Linked DNA regions of Homo sapiens: region 1 is linked to region 2. Evidence: promoter capture Hi-C in 16 types of primary human blood cells and fetal thymus (Javierre and others, 2016). All regions are on one chromosome and are shown on one strand. The core of a region is centred on a gene start or on the middle of the fragment in contact, and the rest is flanking DNA. Distances in the headings are between cores, read along the strand shown.

Region 1 (2,700 bases), core at 134-2,633, 310 kb before region 2:
GGCGATTCTCCTGCCTCAGCCTCCCGAGTAGCTGGGGTTACAGGCGCCCACCACCACGCTTGGCTAATTTTTGTGTTTTTAGCAGAGACGGGGGTTTCACCATGTTGGCCAGGCTGGTCTTGAACTCTTGACCTGAAGTGATCCGCCCGCCTCGGCCTCCCAAAGTGCTGGGATGACGCGTGAGCCACCATGCCCGACGTGAAGACAGGAATTTATACCCATGGAGTGCAAGAAGGGACCTTGTAATTTTTAACACGTGACACTTAGTGGCAGATGAGACCTAATGAAGCCAGGCCCACCTTCCACACCAGATTATAAATTCCCCTGGAGCAGAGATTAAATGTTTTATTCACCAACATGCCCAGATCCCTCGCAATGCCTACGCTTGACAAACACCTGTTGTCAACAAGTGCACGAGGCAGCCTAGGAGGAGAATTAGTCTCCACGAGGAGAATTACTCGGGCCTAGCAGCTAGAGTATTTCGAGGTCATCCTAACTGGGTTCCACTTTTGAATTTTTGGTTTTTGGGTTTTTTGTTTTTTTGGAGACAAGATCTCGCTCCACTTGGGAGCAAGGTCTCCCAAAGCTGGAGTGCAGTGGTGGGACCTCAGCCTCCGGGGGTAGCTGGGGCCAAAAGTGCGCGCCACCATGCCCGGTTCTTATTTTGGGTTTCTGGTAGAGCTCTCGCTATTGTGCCCAGGCTGGTCTCGAACTACTGGGTTCAAGCAATCCTCCCACCTCGGCCTCCCAAAGTACTGGGATTACAGGCGCGAGCCACTCGCCCGGCCGGGTTCCACTTCTGAAAGCTTGGGGAGCCGCTGGGCCTTCCAAGAAAAGTGCTCCACCTCCCGACGGCAGGCAGAGCCCCTGGCCCGGCTATCTTTCCAGGGCCGAAAGCTAACAGTCAAGACGCGAAACGAGGAATTCGGGTCAGGGTGGCAAAGCAAAGCGCGATGACAGTGAGGACGACGTCTAGACGCAAACATACATCAAATCGGGCCGAAGCCCGCTGTCGCCGCGCGGGCTGAACCTGGCACCCGGAGCAACGCGCGACCCCGGGACGAGACGCTCTCGTCCGAGCCAAACTACATCCCCCGGCGTGCACTGCAGCGCCCGCCCCTCGCCGGCCGGCGGGGCCCGGGAGGAAGGCGGCCGCGCTGCCAGTCCCGCAGGTCCCCTAGGCCCCTTTCGCTGCGGCCTTTCCCCAACCCGGACCCGGCACTTCTCGGGTTCCGCGACTGCCGATCGCCCCGGCGCGGCACCGCTCCCTCAGGAGTCGCCTAGGCCGCGCAGTCTCCCGACTTCTCGTCAGGCTTTCGCGCCGGCGCTCCAGCAATCACTGGCTGGAGAAGGTGGGCGTTCCGGCTCGAGAGGACCCTGCCGCGGCTCCGGAAGAGCCTCGTCCTGGGCGGCGGTGGTGCGGCGGTCGCCGTTATGGCCACTGGGCTGGGCGGCTGACCGCCGGGCTAGGAAAGGGCCCAGGGCCCCGAATCTCGGTGGCCGCTGCTCCAGCGCGGCCTGCGCCATGGCCTCCTCCGCCGCCTCCTCGGAGCATTTCGAGAAGCTGCACGAGATCTTCCGCGGCCTCCATGAAGACCTACAAGGGGTGCCCGAGCGGCTGCTGGGGACGGCGGGGACCGGTGAGGCGGGGGTGGGCCACGCCGTGGGGAGCGCAGCCCTGCGCGCTTTGGAAGGAAGATTCTCCCACCTTCCTCCCAGACCCGGGCCCGCGTCTCCTCCCTCCGCGTCCTCAGACACGCCCCCTAGGGCTGGCTTGTCCCAGCCCCAGGTCTCCCTGCTGCCACTGAGAGTAAATTGGACCTCGGGATTCAGTTCCCTGGGATCCTTCTATGGCCTTCCACATTTTCTCATCTTTTTTCACTGTGGCAAATAGAGCAGAGGGGCTTTTGCATCTGCGGTCCTGTAATGTAGAGTGGGTTTCTTTCATAGCTGTTTTTGTTTGTTTTATGCATTTAAAAGCACTAGTCTCAAGACAGGTCTAGTTTTCACCAGACTGACAGAGGATCCGTAGCACAGAAAAAGGGTTAAAAACCCAAAGGAGTCATAATTTGGGGGTGTTGGTAAATACCAGTTATTGGAGGGTAGAGAGCTGGCCTTTAAAACCTGATTGTGGCATTTAGATGTGGTCTTGTTTTGAACGTTTTTACAGCTGAGACTGTTTACTACCCCTTAATTTCATGATTCAGGTTGCTACAAGTTCTGTCTGGAGGAGCTAGAGTTTTCCGGCCCTAAATCCATAGGAAAAGCTGCTATAGTTCTTGGCCTCCGGATATATAGAATTTGATGGCAAGGACAAAACTTTGTTTTATTGCTTTTATTTAAGAGTCAGAGCTTGGGTGTTTGCTCAACGAATTACTCAAGGTCATAGGAATTGAATGACTGGTGAGAATGAAATTCATGTATTTAATATATATTTATTGTGAGGCTGCTGTGTGCTAGGTGCTGGTGAATTGTGAGGCACCGTTCTAGGTGCTGGTGAATATTGCAAATTACAGTGAAAAAGATACGAACATCCCCATTCTAGTGGGTAGGTGATAAACAATATATAACTATTAAGAGGCAGTGTTAAAGAATACAGGAAAGTAAATCAGAGTAAAAGAATAGGGGATGGGACTTCAGTTTTATTTTATTATTTATCATTTTTTTTTTTGAGACAGGGTCTCACTCTGTCACCCAGGC
Region 2 (2,700 bases), core at 181-2,680:
AGAAATAAAATTCAAGTTATCTGATCCATAAAATCCTAGGATGTACTAATTAAACTACTATTAAGAGATCTTGCTTAGATAGCTAATTGGCATCCTTTTCTAACAACTTTGTATGTAAAAGGTTTAAGTATAAAAGGAGCTTTTTTTTTTAAGCTGCAGCTTGCAATTTACAAAAAATGTATTTTTAAATAAACCATTTTAAATCTGAAATTTATATTACAGATATTTTTCTCACTTACCTTTTTCTTTGTCCACCCTAATGACAACCACACACTCATTCCTGCCAATTCGGATGAGTTTGTTGATAGAACGGATACGCCTTCTGGATAATTCACTAAGAAGAATCATGCCTTCAATGTTGTTGTATTCCAGCAAGCTGACATAAGCCCCCATTTCAGCAATGGATCTGACATTCACCATCACTACATCTTCCACCTCAGGAAATTTGTGTTGATAAAATCTACAACTTAGACCCGGCATTCTGCAATTTAAACAAAAGAATTAAGTAAGTATTCAGTTAAGGTGAAAATAAAAAAAAAATCAATTTCCACATCCTGCCACTGAAAGAAAAGATGAAGAAAAAAATAGTTATTAGTCTTAGTCTTCTCATCCTTTGAAACTTCTTAAGTGGTACCAGAAAACAGATAATGTTCAGGAACCAAGCTTTAATTTTTATTTTGCTCAACATTTTTGTAATGCTTGGGTGATTCTCTGCCTTTAGTTTCAGAGGAATCATAAAAAATAATGACCATCTATAAAGTACTCCAAGACCTAAGGATTAAAGGAATACCTCAAGAGTAAAATACTACTTTAAGGCATATCAAATGATGGGAAGCATCACTATTATAACTAATCAGAAAACTAAAGCTACTCTTTGCCGAAGTGAGCAAACATTGTATACGCTACCACTCACTATATAAAGGAAAAAATTTTCTACCTAAACCCTAACCAATATACCAAATGATACATTCTGTCATTTATTATAGCCAAAATTACAGTGTCACATGTCAAAACAACAAAAACTAAAAAAATTTTAATCACAAAATAAACTAAAATGCATCCTCCTCTCATAATTCTTTTTCCTTGAATTCACAATGTCTAGCTTCTCTTATCCCCAATACTCCCAAATATTCCTTTCTTTTATTGAATAGGTATACCTAATCTTGAGAATAGCTTTAATCTCCATTACTACAAAGTTCAAGTTTCTCTTAACCTCCAAGCATTAAAGATATTTACAATTATTCCCTTTGATCCACCCAACCTACTTTCAGCACTACTCCTTTTATGATCCACAAGCCTGAAATCATAGCCTGGGTAGAAGCATATTTAAAAAAGGAAGCTCTCAAACTAATCATGGCTGATGATTTTCATGTTTTTCTGTTAACCTTCACTGTTGTCACTGCTCAAAACGTAGGTAGTAACAGAACTTAAAGGCCTAAGAAAACCTTGTGAAAATTCATATAATAACTTATTAATTGGCACCTGCCTATATCTTCTCAGTGGCTTCCCACTGACTTATGTATCTTTCCACTACCTACAGAATCCTATATGATCTGGCCATTGCCTATCTCCTTGTGGTACAACTTTCTCCCTAGTTCTCCCCATTTTATAGATTAAAAAACTGAAGCACAGGTTAAGTTACTTGTTCTTTCACATACTGCTAACAGGTGATGAGTCAGGATTTGAATCCATGAAGTCTGGATCCAGAGTCTGTCCTCTTATCAGTAAGACTATATTCTCTCAAAACTATTCATAAATATATTATAATTAGAAACATTTTACTTAAAAAGCAACATTAATATATATTCAGTGCCAGAGTACATAACACCAATAAGTGCAAACTATTAGTACTCATCTGTTTGACAACAAAGAGCAGCATATTAATGACAGTAGCAGAGATGTATTTCTTTGTAGGGAATACAAAATCCCTACAAAATAGGGATTTAGCAAATAAAGAGAAGTAGACATTCAATGGCCTTACCCACCAAGAAACAGCTGACTGTTTGTTTCGTTTTTAAACAGGGCTTTTCGAGGGTGGGGGTGGGGAAACTGTTGTTGAATATGTGTATGTAAAGCTCTCAAATTTGAGAGCTAAAAAGTTTCAAATTGGGCATAAAAATAAACTATGTTACAGAAATGTATGGAACAGTTGCAAGACATTTGACCAGTGAAAACCACATTTACTTACCAAGCTTCTCCAAACAGTAAAGGTGATGCTTTTAGGGGAAGCAAGGCTTAATTTGATGGTTAAAAAACATGGGCAATCATGTAAGAGAATCCTGAAGGGATATGACTATGAATACTATTTCTTCAGGAGGCACAAGTCTCTTTGCAACATAAAGGGTAAGTAAAGGAATACTGTTGATGGTATGTTATTCATAGTAAAGATAGATAGTAGTTAAGTACAAAAAGAATCCATACCACAAAAACCTGCATATTGGTTGACAATTTTTGAACATATTGCCTAATGAAATGCTAATAACTTAAATTTTTTTTTTAACTTAAAAAAATCATTCCGCAATATCGAAGTCACACTAGGTGACTTCACCTCTTTATCTTTTTCACAGCATTCTTATTTTATTTGGTCCTCAAGAAGTGTCAAATCAGGCAATTAACATAGTAAACTCGGGGAACAACTCTAGCCTTGTGTTCCAGTCCTTGCTCTGCTACTTACTAGAAGTGGCTGCTTGGGAAAGATAA

What was found. Contacts are between HindIII fragments. The CHiCAGO score rates a contact against its expected background, and 5 or more counts as called.
Region 1: the fragment with the promoter of VTI1B here is called in contact with a fragment that was not itself captured in region 2 in 2 of 17 cell types (fetal thymus and non-activated CD4 T cells); the score reaches 6.0 in fetal thymus.

The regions. Positions count from the first base shown.
Region 1 is chr14:67,673,315-67,676,014 of GRCh38, reverse strand. It overlaps VTI1B (vesicle transport through interaction with t-SNAREs 1B), which reads left to right and starts at 1,383. Exons shown (of 6, transcript NM_006370.3): 1 at 1,383-1,640. The coding sequence starts at 1,526. It also overlaps a transcript of GPHN not described here. RefSeq lists silencers at 1,059-1,498, 1,599-1,708. The HindIII fragment of the contact is 4,739 bases long and covers 809-2,700 here.
Region 2 is chr14:67,362,548-67,365,247 of GRCh38, reverse strand. It overlaps EIF2S1 (eukaryotic translation initiation factor 2 subunit alpha), which reads right to left. Exons shown (of 8, transcript NM_004094.5): 2 at 240-481. The coding sequence starts at 480. It also overlaps a transcript of GPHN not described here. Among named protein-coding and RNA genes, the nearest start is that of EIF2S1, 3.6 kb to the right of the region's middle. The HindIII fragment of the contact is 1,529 bases long and covers 666-2,194 here.